Linked DNA regions of Homo sapiens: region 2 is linked to region 1. Evidence: promoter capture Hi-C in 16 types of primary human blood cells and fetal thymus (Javierre and others, 2016). All regions are on one chromosome and are shown on one strand. The core of a region is centred on a gene start or on the middle of the fragment in contact, and the rest is flanking DNA. Distances in the headings are between cores, read along the strand shown. Region 1 holds the start of CYB561D1 (cytochrome b561 family member D1). Region 2 overlaps AHCYL1 (adenosylhomocysteinase like 1).

What was found. Contacts are between HindIII fragments. The CHiCAGO score rates a contact against its expected background, and 5 or more counts as called.
Region 2: a fragment that was not itself captured here is called in contact with the fragment with the promoter of CYB561D1 in region 1 in 5 of 17 cell types (naive CD4 T cells, M1 macrophages, M0 macrophages and 2 more); the score reaches 7.7 in naive CD4 T cells.

The regions. Positions count from the first base shown.
Region 1 is chr1:109,488,405-109,495,468 of GRCh38, forward strand. It overlaps CYB561D1 (cytochrome b561 family member D1), which reads left to right and starts at 5,690. Exons shown (of 3, transcript NM_182580.3): 1 at 5,690-5,883; 2 at 6,739-6,776. The coding sequence starts at 5,736. ATXN7L2 (ataxin 7 like 2) reads left to right here. Exons shown (of 11, transcript NM_001350175.2): 6 at 1-61; 7 at 443-696; 8 at 1,526-1,724; 9 at 1,867-1,988; 10 at 2,518-3,313; 11 at 4,182-4,330. The coding sequence ends at 4,196. RefSeq lists silencers at 2,453-2,502, 5,461-5,690 and enhancers at 5,761-5,840, 5,830-6,330. The HindIII fragment of the contact is 3,360 bases long and covers 5,279-7,064 here.
Region 2 is chr1:110,004,465-110,011,528 of GRCh38, forward strand. It overlaps AHCYL1 (adenosylhomocysteinase like 1), which reads left to right. Exons shown (of 17, transcript NM_006621.7): 2 at 4,570-4,681; 3 at 6,750-6,893. Among named protein-coding and RNA genes, the nearest start is that of AHCYL1, 23 kb to the left of the region's middle. The HindIII fragment of the contact is 1,737 bases long and covers 3,116-4,852 here.

The DNA.
Region 1 (7,064 bases), core at 4,440-6,939:
GCAGTGTGGGGTAATAAATCCAGAGACCAAAAAGATCTGTACCCGCCTGTTGACCTGCAAGGTAACCCCCTTCCCACTGCACGGTGAGGGAGGACAGCACAGGGCTTGCCCACTCCTTCCCTGGGCAAAGAGAGGAATGTCGATGTTACTGAAGGTCCAGCTTAAGGGAGGGCAGTTAGGCCCACCCAAGGGAAGGGGAGATGGGTATGCCCCTCCTGGGCAGAAGGTGGGAACAGTGGGAAGGAGGGAGTTTCCAGATTCCCCCATCCCAAAGGAGGGTTTTGGCCCCATGGGGGAATGAAACAAAGACACATGAACACAGCTGCAAATATGCCCACCTCTCTCCCTGCCCCCCAACTTGCCCGGGCCAAAGCACCCTGCCGTCCCTCACCCCTTCTCAGTTCATACCTACTCCCCAGCTCTCCACTCTGCTGTATTCTAGATCCACTCAGTACACCAGCGCCGGGAAGTCCAGGGCCGGGCCAAGGACTTTGACGTGCTGGTGGCAGAGCTGAAGGCCAACTCCCGCAAAGGGGAGTCTCCCAAGGAGAAGAGCCCAGGGCGCAAGGAGCAAGTTCTCGAGCGCCCCTCCCAGGAGCTCCCCTCCTCAGTCCAGGTTGTAGCAGCGGTGGCTGCTCCCAGCAGCACCTTCTCTGTTCGTGCCAAGCAGACCTACCCATACTGTGCACTGCCCAGGTACGTCTAGAATCCAACCCCTACCTCACCTGGGGGTACTTGGCCCCTAAGCCATCAGGGGCCCCTGGAAACAGGCTCAGGGAGTGTCCTGGAAGAGGCACTCCCTCAGCCCTGAGTGTGGGGGTATTCCTGGGGCTCCTGACAGTGGTGTGGAAGCAGGAGACTCCCCTGTTTCCAACCAGGCATACCACAGCACCCCAGCCTCTCGGCAGTGTGCCAGATCCAACACTCAGGATATGAACATTTTCCCAGCTGCCTCCAACAGACCGAAACTTGTCACTGGGGAGCTGAAAGGGTCACACTCCTGGGCAAGGCAGCCCTATGTGTATTCACTCACTGGCCCCTTCGCGTGCAGAGGCTATGCCGGACCCCAGGGAGAGCCTGACTTGCTGAAGGAGACACACATGCATCTCTGCCTGTCACACAAGGGGCAGACACGAAACACAGGCTCAGCTCACAGACAGGCTCACAGGAATATGTGATGCAAGAAGGGGGTTGAGCGAGTTGACTGGGCTGACCAGAGCTGGGTACAGTTTTAACTGTGAAGATTTTCTGGAGGAGGCGGATCTGCAGCAGATTATCCCCTGAGGAGGAAGGGGCTGGGAGGTGAAGGGGCTGGGGAGAGAATCCCTTGGGAGCAGTCTCTCTGTCTCTTACTCTGTGAGCTGTGTCGTTCCCTCCTGTCCTTCCCTTCCCTCTGTCCTCTTCTGATTGCCCTGCAGGGTGTCTGCCCTGGTGCCCTGCTCTTTGAGCTCGGCAGGTTCAAGGATGCCCCTACTCTGACCCCACAACAGTCACATTCCCCTGGCATCCCTTTTGGCCCTTCCAGGTCCCGGGCCTCCTCCGAGAGTGAATTGGATGATGAAGGCCCCTGTGGTGGTGATGGGGACCCAGGCCTGTTCCCCTTCCCCATGCCCCGGGGTGGGACCCAGGCCTCCAGCGAAGAGAGTGAGGAGGAGGGGACATCTGACGACCTCCACCCACCCCCTGACTGCCATTATGCAACCCGGCCCCCACGGCCACAGGCGGTAAGGACCTGGAATAGGGGCCTATGGAGGGGGTGGCCCAGCACTCCTGGCCAACAACATGGGGAGGAGGCCAGATCCTGTGTGCAGATGCTGTCTGTGCACCCCAGACCCTGCCAACCATGCACCTTCCTTCTGCCTTTAGTTCTGCACCTTTGGGAGCCGGCTGGTGAGCCCAGGATGCTATGTGTTTAGCCGCCGGCTGGACCGGTTCTGCTCAGCACTCAGCTCCATGCTGGAACGGCACCTCAGCACACACATGTGGAAGTAAGTCTCTCGGACCCAGAATGGAAGTTCTAGAATGGAAATTCCTAGGTTCCAGACATACTTGGGCTTCAGAAGCCCTGATCTTTCCTGTATACCCATAGGTGTGCCTTGGCTATTTGCCAGCAGGACCCCAGATAGGGAGTAGCATGAAAAGGAGGTGGGAAAACTTGGCAGCCTAGAGTTTGGCTAAGGCAGGGCATGGAAGGGTGGTCTGGGGGTGAATCTAGACTTTCATCCATCACTTCCAGTACCTTTTGGGTAACTAGGGATAGGGGATGCCCAAACCAAGATTTAAAATGAAGTTCCTAGTGGGCTGCCTCCTAGTTAGTAGGTACTAGCTAATTCCTCTCCACAGGCACCCCTGTGTCTTCTTCCTAACCCTCAGTTCCAGCATCTCCCAGCAGATGGCAGCAACTCTGGGGCTCTGCTGACCATTTCTAGGTGGGGCAGAGAGACTGGAGTGTGTCTTGTGTTGGGGGAAGCTGTCTTGTTTCTTGGCAGTCACAGTGGGGCTTTCTTTTTGCTGCAGGAAGATCCCACCGGCAGCTGAACCTCCAGCTCACCTTGTCAACTCCCCGTTATCTGCTCCCCTGAGCCCATCCTCTACAGGCACCTGCCCCCGCCTTCCAGGTCCAACCCTGAGACCTGCCTGCCCAGCCTCCATGCCCCCCACCAAGGACAACCTTGTCCCCAGCTACCCTGCAGGCTCCCCCAGCGTGGCGGCTGCCTGTAGCCAGGCAGAGTGCATGGGCGGGAGCCAGGCTATCACCTCACCACTGCCTGCCAACACGCCATCCCCGTCCTTCAGCAAGCTGCCGCCTTCCAAGGCCAGCAAGTCATCCAAAGGCAAGGACGGGGTGGAGGTGGAGGCCCCTTCTCGAAAGCGGAAGTTATCCCCTGGCCCTACCACTCTTAAACGGACCTGCATCCTGGAGCCCACTGGAAAAGGGAAACCCTCTGGCTGTAGGGGCCTCTCGGCCAAAACTAAAACAGCCCTGAGCATGGGGCTTAATGGGACAATGGGGCCAAGAGTGAAGCGGGCAGGGCCCCTGGACTGTCGTGGCTCCCCTCATCAGCTCCCCACACCAGTCAAGGCTTCTCAGCTGGAGAACCGGGGAGCAGCTGGACACCCAGCCAAGGCCCTGCCAACCAACTGCCTCTCTGAGGAGGAGGTGGCCAAGAAGCGGAAAAACCTGGCCACTTATTGCCGGCCAGTGAAGGCCAAGCACTGTCAGGCTGGTGCCCCTGCTGATGTGGCCTGCTCTGTGCGCCGCAAGAAGCCAGGCCCGGCCCTGGCCTTTGAGGAGAAGTGCTCTACACTGAAGGTACCAGCCAGGCTCCCTGAAGATTGATGAGGGTGGGGCACACAGGGGGTACCTGATACAGAGAAGATGCTACATTGGTGTTTGTGCAGGGAAAGGGAGGAAGGGGAAGTTGAGAGAGTTCCTGGACTGTTTTCTTTAGGAAGAGGTAGGTCAGTTCTTAGCAAAGTGACTCCAGCTTTTTGCCTGGTGAACCTTCCCCTATCCCTAACCCTTTCCCTTGGGCTGAGGAGATGCGGCACCCCTCCACCCCTGCTTTTGCTATAATCAAAGGGCTACTTCTTTCTGAATTGGCTGTGACCCTCATTCCAGGTACTGGAGCTACCTCTGTTCCCTGAAGGAAAGGGAGTTTGAGTCCCTGGGTCACAGCCTAACATGCCGAGCAGCAAGGTGGGTGGGCTGGTCTCACTGGTTTTTCCTCTGGGCATCAGGGCCTTGAAGGGCAGGCACACAACCCCATGTCCACTTATGCACATGTGCCCACCTCCAGGTGTGCAGGTGACAGGCAAGTTCTCCAGGGTTTCCAGTAAAGCCTGCAGCCAGTTTTATTTGCCTCTTCTGGTGGGAGCCCTGGTGTAGTGTGCTATGTGCTCTCCATATGATCTCTGCCAGGAGGGACTTACTGGAGGTGGGACGGGGGTGCTCTCCTGGGTTAGATGTGGGCCTAATCATAAACCCTGTGTGTTCTCCAGCTTCACTACCCAGGCTGCCCCTGGTGAGCTGGCATTCATCTTCCCCCTTGCTCAGTTTTACTCACCAGGCCAGCAGAAGGAAATCAAGCTTTAGCCTCTGTAGTGCACACAGTTCACTGGGTAGGACAGCTGGTAGGCCCCCACCCTGACCCTTTCTCTCGCCTCTTGTCTTCCTGCAGTCAAAAGCCCATTAACGAGAAAGTGCCTGCCCACTGCAACGGAGCCGCCAGCACCTCCTCCCCTCCAGATCCGGGCCCCAGGCTGCTGCCGCTTTTTATAACTTTATATTATTTTTTTTTAAGAAAAAAAGCTCTTTAAAATACCTCAAGACTGTCTCCCTGTTCTGTTGCTGCTATGAAAATATAAAAACAGAAACATAGAAAAGGAAGGAAAAAAAATAACAAAATGAGTGTCCTTACTGTCCCCAGCCCTACCCTGGGAGGCTGAGATGATAGGCAGCCAGACTCCAGCTCCCATAGCTTGCCTGCAAAAGTCTCTTATGCTCATTATTATTATTATTGTCATCTTGTCATTTTCAATAGTGTGAAAAATGTTTGTGTCACTGGGGTAGTCTTTCCAGACAGGATGATGAGGCGTGTGGCTCTGAATGAGTAAGGCTTCCTGAGTCTTGACACCAGAGACGACTATGGTCCCATTGGGAAGAGAAACTCGAGAGGGGGAGCTGCACTTCTGGCTCTTTCTAGGATCCTTGCCCCGAGGGTCTGGGAATTGGCTTGTGACCCTTTTCTGGTCCTTCAGCAACCCTAGGCATCCATCCCTCCCTGAATTATTGCCTGCTTTTCTTCAGCTGTTCCTGCAGCCTCATTTTCTCAGCCACTTAGGGAGCTTGAGCTGGGTTGGTCATTGCTGTTGGGATATTCCTGTTTTCTATTGGACAGCCTTCCTTCCCTGCCTGTGGGTTTGCCTTTAAGGAAGGGGTAGAACCTTTCCCAGGGAGGCCTCCTTGGGTTGAACCACCCCTTTTTTGGAGGCAGGAAGGGAAAAGGCATCATCACTTGCAGAACTGGTGGTGTGGGAGGCCACAGGAGTGTGGGAGGCCTTGGTCCTTCAGGATCACCTGGCTCCTCAGGGCTGAGCAGCTGCTGAGGAGGCGGCAGGGCTGGGAGTGCCCTAGTTTTTCCATTTATCTCGCTGGGGACCACTCCCGTGCAGATGCGAGAGGAGACTTGCATTTCCCTCCTTTGGTCCACCAGGTTCAAGGCACTATATTTTGGCGATGTCCTTTCCTATTCTCCTTGCTCTTAGGCATGGAGGAAGCTTGTTCCCTGAACAAGACAAAATGAGGTGACAGGAGACAGTGCACAGCCAGGGAAATCCAGTACTACTAGAAATCGGCTCCAAACACTTGTTTCACAGTCTTGGTTCAGCGTACCAAGTGTGTGATTTGGGGTTTCACTGAAATCGTTTGCCACAAAAGTAATTTCCACAGGCTGCTTGGGATTTAGGCCCTTGTAGACAGACACACAGATACAAATGAAGGTGGGCTGGGAACTGTTCGGTCCCCTTCTGCCTCCGGGCTCTCGCGGGAGCGGGCCTCTCCGGGGCACTCGCGTTTCCCCCCCAGCCCCCAGAGGGCGCTGTGGGCCACTCCGCCGCACTGCCGGCGGCGTCCCCGGGGAGGAGCCTCTCCTGCAGCCGCCACCGCCTCCGCGATCGCAAACCCGGAAGACGTGTTCGGGCAGCTGGAGTGTACGGGCCCGCGGGCCACGGCCATGCAGCCCCTGGAGGTAGGTCTGGTTCCCGCTCCAGCTGGGGAGCCGAGACTGACCCGCTGGCTGCGGAGAGGCAGTGGGATCTTGGCGCACCTGGTAGCTTTGGGCTTCACCATCTTTCTGACAGCGCTGTCCCGGCCAGGAACCAGTGAGTGTGCGGGGCGGGGTTGCGGAAGGGGGCGGAGTGGAGATGCTGGAGGGGCAGCGCTTGGGAGCCCCGGGAGACTTGGAGGAGGGACCCCAGCAGTAAAGGGGAGACAGAAACAGTGGAGGGATTTTGAGGGCCTGGTGGGGCGGGGCCCCAGGGATCCTGGAATAATGGGGTTTTGGGTGCTGTGGGGGAAGGGCAGACGATTGAACAGACCGAACTACTTCCTCAGAAACAGGTCCCCTGATGGAGGATAGAAGTGAAGGAGGCCGGGCGCGGTGGGTCATGCCTGAAATCCCAGCACTTTGGGAGGCCGACGCGGGTGGATCACTTGAGGTCAGGAGTTCGAGACCAGCCTGGCCAACATGGTGAAACCCCGTCTCTACTAAGAATACAAAAATTAGCCAGGCGTGATGGCGCGCGCCTGTAGTTCCAGCTACTTGGGAGGCTGAGGGAGGAGAATCGCTTGAACCCGGGAGGTGGAGGCTGCAGTGAGCCGAGATTGCACCACTGCACTCCACCCTGTGCGACAGAGCGAGACTCCGTATCAAAAAAAAAACAAAAAACAACAACCAAAAAAAACAAAAAACAAAAAAGGGGCAGAGGACTGGGCTGCCAGCTGAGAGGTGCTGAACGGGGAACCCGGGCCAAACTGTTGTATGTGTGTGGATAAGGAGGCCCTCTTGGTTGCTCACCCTGGGGCTCCTTGGCTGCTCCACTTTGTCCTTAGTTCCTGTGCCCGATTAGGATTGGGGATGGTACTTTTCTCCTGTGGCTAGATTCTTTGGGTTCCACCTAGCTACAGGGGCAGGAACAATGGTACCAAGCCCTCAGCCTGTTCTCTTTGATTCTTAGGTCTTTTCTCCTGGCACCCTGTATTCATGGCCTTGGCGGTGAGTTTAGGCTTCTATCTGATTTGTTTGGGTATTCCTCACCTCATTCTCCCAGGGAAGCACCCAGCTTTCAGAAAGCTCAGCCTTTCTAAGGCTAAGACAGGTGGAGGAAACATCTAGGGCTCATCTTTCCCTGCAGCCTATGGGATTGGGAAACCTGGAGGGCTGGGCCATAGGCAGTTGTCAGATGGTTGAAAAGGGCGGGAGGGCATGGAAGATAATTTCTTTCTCCATTGGGGCCGGAAAGGAGAAGGGGGGAGAGGTGTTATCCGGTCATCTCCCGACTTG
Region 2 (7,064 bases), core at 2,734-5,233, 510 kb after region 1:
GGAGCATTGTGTTGGGAAGGGAATTCCTTTCTTTGGGAAACACTTTTTTTTTTACTTGAAGTGAAAGGTATTCAGACTTGTGTATTTCTTGTACCAAGGAGTGGGTGTTTATTGATAACTGTTTCTTTGGGTTCATCTGAAGTGGGAATCAGACTGGTAAATATCAAGAAAAACTGGGCATGGTGGTGTGGGCCTATAGTCCTAGCTACTCAGGAGGTGGGAAGATTGTTTGAGCCCAGCAGTTTGCAGCCAGCCTGGCAAACATAGTGAGACCCTGTCTCTTTAAAAAGAGAGAGAACGTAAGGAAGTAAAGGTGTTACACCTGTTTTGGCTGTCTGCCATATTCTCTTCCTTTCCTCTGAAAAAGGAGTGGGTGAGGGTAGAATCTGTAGAAGAAAAAATAAATTAACCAGAAAATATGTGTGAAAAAGGGATTAGAAAAGATGTAGGAATCTTGAAAAGTGTTCTGACACACTATGCTTAGTAATGATGATCTTGTTAAAATATCTAGTTTTTTATTGTTACTTTTTTTTTGCTCAGTTGCTAAGAAATATGCTGACCATAATTTCTAAACAGAAAAATCTCTGCACACAATATGCTAGGACAGACAATGGGACAGAATATATAAATTTAGGAATGTCCCAGAGAATCAGTAGTGTACCAAAAGAGGGATCCTAGCCCTTCAAATAATTCTCTGCAGTAAGAAAGACTGCTCTGCTCACTTCTACATTACACTTTCTTAATGATTTGTTTTCCTAGTAATTGTTGTTTATCTTTGAATCTAGTTCTTGACACTTAGGAAGAAACCTTTTTGAGGAAATTAAAAGCTGTTAGATTGGTATTTGAAATAACGAATTTGACAAGATGTCTAAGTTAAACCTAAGTTAAACAATATCCAGATAAGGCTGTGAAGACTATAATATCTGGCATGTTCCTCATGGAGCAGTGAAATTCCATGCCAAAGCCACTTACATTACTATACTGTGGGTCAAAACATGTCTACAGATTTTAAGGGACCGTGTTTCCTTGCATAGAACTTTCCTGGAGTAGCACTGGATACTTAGTTGGTGCCTAGCAAATGTGATGACTAAAGAATATAATGCATCACAGATATTATCCTGATCACCATTTCTTGGCTAAAATGTTGTAGTGGAATTCTGGTGGCTGTTAATTCTTTCTCATTCAGGAGATAGCAGGCAAAATTGGGTGGGCCCTGGGAAGGAGTGTAGCTGGGCTATTTAACATCTGAGAATATAGGATGTGTGTTTATGAAAGTAAACTCAGCTTCTAATGGTAAAAAAAAAAAAAATCAATTAGGATCAACTAAAGGAATAGCATACAATTTTTCTTCTCTTGAGGTATGTAACTTTTTTGGATTGTCTCTGATCCCCTTCTCTTGGTAAGGTCTGCACAATTCTTTCAGCTCACTTTGTCAGCAGACTTCCCACTAGGTAGTGCATATACCCCAAATTATTCGTTTGGTAGAGCTTTTCTTTACCATTCTCAGTATCACATGGAAGAAAGTCAACCATTGTACCTGCTAAGCTATTTGAAGAGGTGCTTTAAATAGCATGTTAAACTGGCCTGATATTTAATTGGGTTTTTAAGACACAGCAAGTAGACTTCTGTATTTGGGTGTGCTATTTGAAGAATGGGTCAATCTGACCTTCTAGCCTTTCATAAATATGCTCTTAGTGTAAGAATGGAACACTGGTATGCTTGTTCAGTTGTGGGTAAGGCTGTTTATGGGGTGGTGAGTTACTCAAGCATAACATCATTCTTTAACATAAGACTTTTTACTTAAAGATACTTTCTGCATTTCAGCCACTTTATTTCCTTTCCATTCCTTCTCTTCCCAATCCTACTTTTTACTTAGGTGTAGTATTCCTTGTAGATGTAGATTTGAAGAAAGGTGAAAGCACAGTAATTAAGACTTAATGTTTGGAAGAAATTATGATGATAGGAATTAATAGAAACAGAACAACTTTGTAGTCTTCCTTTTCGTCTTACCCAGATTATCATATTTGCCTTAAATGAGTGAGTCCAACCCAATCAGAAGGCTGTTGTTGAGATCTGGAGAGAAAACTTGTGATATCCAAAAGTTGCTTTTGGCAGCAGTGTTTATATTTTCAACGTGAGGGTGAACAATGCTCCAGGAGATACTTCACCAAGAGAAAACAGAGCTACTAGCTGTGAAGATAATCAGTGGAGCTAGCAGGTCTGGAGGAAACTGGCAGAGCAGATGTATTCCACAGCATCAGTTGTAACACACATTCTCTTCAGGCTGTAATTTGGGGTGGAAGAAAAGACCAGGTTTTCATGCATCTTTGTATTGCTGGGACACCTTATAAGTGGTGAGAATGTCAAACAGCTGCAAGAATACACAGTCCATTCATCCTTGCCATGGCTTGGGTTAACTACATTCTACCCACTTCAAATATGGACCATATTCATTATTTGAGAGATGGGGAGGTAGGGGCACTGCACTGGTTAGTAAGCTGCTAAGCTGCTTGCAACACAGTCCAGTATTTTTAGATGGGAAAGATTTTGCTTAGGTTTAGGCTACTGATGAGCTTTATTAATATAAGGGGAAATTATGACTATTCGGTTTTTAAGTTGCTGAAGAAACACATTTCTCTCTTGCCACAGCCACCTTTCTATATGAAAAACTGCAAGTGTTATTGCAGTTCCCTCCCCCACCCTCACCCTCCATGTACCTGGTATCTGGGAACATGCCCAGAACCCTTTGAAAAAAGGCGAACAGGGGAAGGAATCATAGCAGAGGGGAGAGTAGCTTCCAAATAGAATAGGCTGCATATGCCAGCAGCAGGGAGGCTGGTGGAGGAAGGGCTGCCTCTGGAGAGTGTTAAGAGGGGTTGATGGTCTCTTGACTGTGTATTTTTTTCCATCATCAAAATAACAGCATATTGAGTTGGAAGTCATTACCTTGGTCCTGGATTAATTTCTTCAGCAAAACTAGCTTTACTGACTGTAGAAATCAGTTTCCAATTTGTTTATATTAGCTGCTTGTGCCTAGGCTGCCCGCTTAAACCTGATTGCTGCACTGCAATCTGGTGCTCCCCTAGCTGAAGGGTACATGTGAAAGAGGAGGAGAAGCTTTTGCAGCTGTAACTAATGGGTAGTTTACTGTTCCTGGCTTTAAAGTGGCTGTAACCATGTTGCCAGTATTATACAGAGAAGATTTTAATCTGTAGTCATTTACATTTCCAGAGTATTTGCTAAAGACTTAGCTTAATGGATTCTCCAAGGGAACCTTTTCAGATTTAGTCAGATCGTGAACAGAATCTCAGTTCACATACTCAAACCATCCTGCTTATTTCAGGGGTGAAGTTTATTTTATTTTGAAGAAAGGGTTTATCAGAGTTTAAACAGGAGTTCGGGAGGAAGGTTTAAACCATGTAATAAAAGTGTTACACACTTTATAAATCTATAAATAATATCAATTGCAAGCTATTTGCTATTGATTAGAGCCAGTTTTATTCTTCAAAGAATTATCTAGTTCTGGCTTATTTCATTTAAGGAAGTTTTTTTTTTGGGTTTTTTTTTTTTTTTTTTGAGACAGAGTCTCACTCTGTCACCCAGGCTGGAGTGCAGTGGCACGATCTCGGCTCACTGCAACCACCACCTCCCGGGTTCAAGCAATTCCCTGCCTCAGGCTCCCAAGTAGCTGGGACTACAGGCACCCGCCACCAAGCCCAGCTAATTTTTGTATTTTTAGTAGAGACGGGGCTTCACCGTCTTGGCCAGGCTGGTCTCCATCTCCTGACCTCGTGATCTACCCAAAGTGTTGGGATTACAGGCGTGAGCCACTGTACCTGGCCCATTTAAGGAAGTTTTTAATACAAAGTTTACCAAGTCATTATTTTCTCCTTCCTTCAGATTAGTCCTAATGAGTTAGAATTTACTATAGTGTATGTGGGTTTTTAATTTTCTTTTTATCATTATATTCTGGTATTTTAAATTTTTAATAGGATAGGAGGTTCTAGAGATATTACATTGGCTTTGTGAAGTATAGACATATGGTTGGGCTCTGAGTATTGGCACCCTAATGCCCATCACCATTTCTAGGCATCTCTTCATAATTCTTTCAGAAAGCAAGACCATTTGCCAACTTTAGGAATGTGCTACAAGGGAATATTCTGAAACAAAAACCAAAAAACCCCAGTAGCACTATGAGATTCTGTTTTCTGAAAGATTTGGGAAGAAGGGTAAAGAGTTTAATCTGTCAGGGTTATAAGAGGGGAAAAAAACTTGATGGAATGTGAGAAAGATTTATAAAATTGAACATATACTAAACGAAATTGGTTCTTAACCTTAGCCCCTCCTCCCAAATCCTGCAGAAACAATTGGGAAGAGACAGTGATTGACGTGTTGGGAGAAGTCAGAGAGTAGCCTCGGCCTTCCCCCATTTCTGGTGGGAAAGTTGCTGGCTTAGTAGGAACCATGTGATTACATGGCTTTTAGGGAAAGACAATGTATCCTTAAAAAAAAAAACATTTCATGGATTTTCCTTATAAGTTTTCAACTTTTTGTCTTCCTTTTGTATAGCAAATCCAGTTTGCTGATGACATGCAGGAGTTCACCAAATTCCCCACCAAAACTGGCCGAAGATCTTTGTCTCGCTCGATCTCACAGTCCTCCACTGACAGCTACAGTTCAGGTAGGTGTGAATGAACTCCATGTCCTCTCTAATCTCTCTTCCCTGTTTGCTACCAGTGCTCTTCACTTAGCAATCTGAAAATACCTCATGTTATGACTGCCCACCTTTGTGCTGAAAACTGTTAGTGGCTGGGCAGTGGGAATGTTCTGCAGCCAAGCTAGTAGCTGGGGAAGCTTTTGTCGACTCGAGACTTTCTTCCCCCTGGCTGTCTGTGTGTGTGGTCTGTGGCCAGTGCCCAGTTGGTAGGACTGGGCTAGTTCCCATTCCCACATTGATCCGCCCATTTCAAAAGGAAGAAATCAATGCTATTTTGGCTGACAGAATTGGACTTAAAAAAGAAGTGCATTTTGAAGCACGATTTCTTTGTGTAAAATATACCCTGTCACCTATCTCTTTCTTTCTTGTCTCCAAGACTGCTTAGATTGTAACAATAAAATTAGTATTTTGGCTTCTCTTATTTATTAGGTTATTCTTTCTGTTGGAATATCCTCCCCTGTTAGACTCTGGAGCAGGAAAGATTCAGACTACTGTAATGTAACTCCAGCTCTGTTTCTTTTTAGTTCTCTCCTCCTGTCTTAACTCTCTGTAAATAAAGTCTTTTTCTGTTTTGTATTGTGTCTTTCCCAACTATAGAGCATGTATTAGAAAATTAGCATGGAAAAGAATATAGAATCTTGGCAGATGAATACAGGAGAAAACATTAGGGACATCTAATGGGGCATCCAATACAACCTTGTCATTGTTTAACTGAAGACTCATTGTTAAAAGATTAAGAGGTTACAGATTGCTATTAATGTCAGCAGAGATATTTGTACCAAAAGCCATTCATTGTCCTTTGCCAGAATACCTTTTGCATTGTATTATCAACATTAAGGATTAACATAAATGAAAAGCTGTTATATATGATCCTGGAGTGACAGATAAAAAGTGGTGTGTGACAAGCAGGCTAACTGTAGCCAAGAAAGAAGAAAAATTAATTGTGAAAAATTGAGTTATGAGAGGAAGAACGATAAAACGACTGAAGAAGGCTTTTAAAAAGTCTTCAAAGATCTTGACGGCCATGTTACAGAAATGTATTAGAGCCTTTTAAAAAGCTTAGTGATATGGTTAAAATGTCATAGTGGGGAAGATAATCTTTAGTAGTATTTGTGTTAGCTGGACAGGAGGAGGACCTGTACATAGAAGTCAGTCAGTGAGAGAGTCCAGGTATACTAGCAGAAACCGTGATGAGGAAAGTACTCAATTCAGAGAGGAAAGAAGTGATTTGAGAGGTAAGGAATGATTGTTGTATATCCTCTTGCATATCTGTCAGATAAGTGGTATTTTTAGCTTTTATGTGAAACCACTTTTTAAAGTTGATCATTTTGACAGACTTTCCCAGGGCTATCAGTAGAACCAGAGCTGTTTGCCTTTTGTGCCATTTCTTTCTTTCTCTATTCCTTGAGCACAACTTAGTGTAAAATCCCTTGTAAGACTATCTTATCACTTTTGTCTATATCCATGGTTCTCAAAGTGTGATCCTCTGACTAGCAGCATCAGCAACACCTGGTAACTTGTTGGAACTACTAATGCTTAGGTGCCACTCCATACCTGCCAGATGGGAAACTGGCCACAGGGTCTAGCAATATATGTTTTAACAAACCTTCCATGTGATCCTGATAGATGCTTGAATTTGAGAACCAGTGATCTATAGAAATAGCATTCCTTATCTGCCCTAAATTATTCTTCTGTTTTTGCCAGGTCTGGTTCCAATCCAGATGGGACCAAGTACCTCTATTATCTGGGATTACTATAGCTGCAGGTTTATAATCAGTGGTCCCTTGTCATAGGCACTAATAGCACAGTATTGTTAGGGTGGGTGAAAGAGCTGCAACATGGAAGTACCCACAACAGTTTCATTCATACCACCTATTAGAACCTAGAGGAGCAGAACTGAGAGCGTTGTAAAAGGTAGCTCCAATTAAGGGTGTTCCCTTAACTTAAATGAAAGTCCCTTGGGGACTGCACTCTGTAGAGTTGGGGACCACTGAGGTTTTTCTATCCTTGTTTTTTTCTTTCCTGGCTCTAGCTGCATCCTACACAGATAGCTCTGATGATGAGGTTTCTCCCCGAGAGAAGCAGCAAACCAACTCCAAGGGCAGCAGCAATTTCTGTGTGAAGAACATCAAGCAGGCAGAATTTGGACGCCGGGAGATTGAGATTGCAGAGCAAGGTAAAGAAAGGGAGTGGGTTAGGGGACCAGAAACAACCCTCTTGTTGGCCATCAGAATCCACAAACAACTTAAGACTTGAAAGCTGACTTGAAAGTGTACTGGGAAGAAAGACAGTATTATGGACTTTCGGATAAACACTTCTCTCTCTATGGAACTTAAGTCTTGGGATT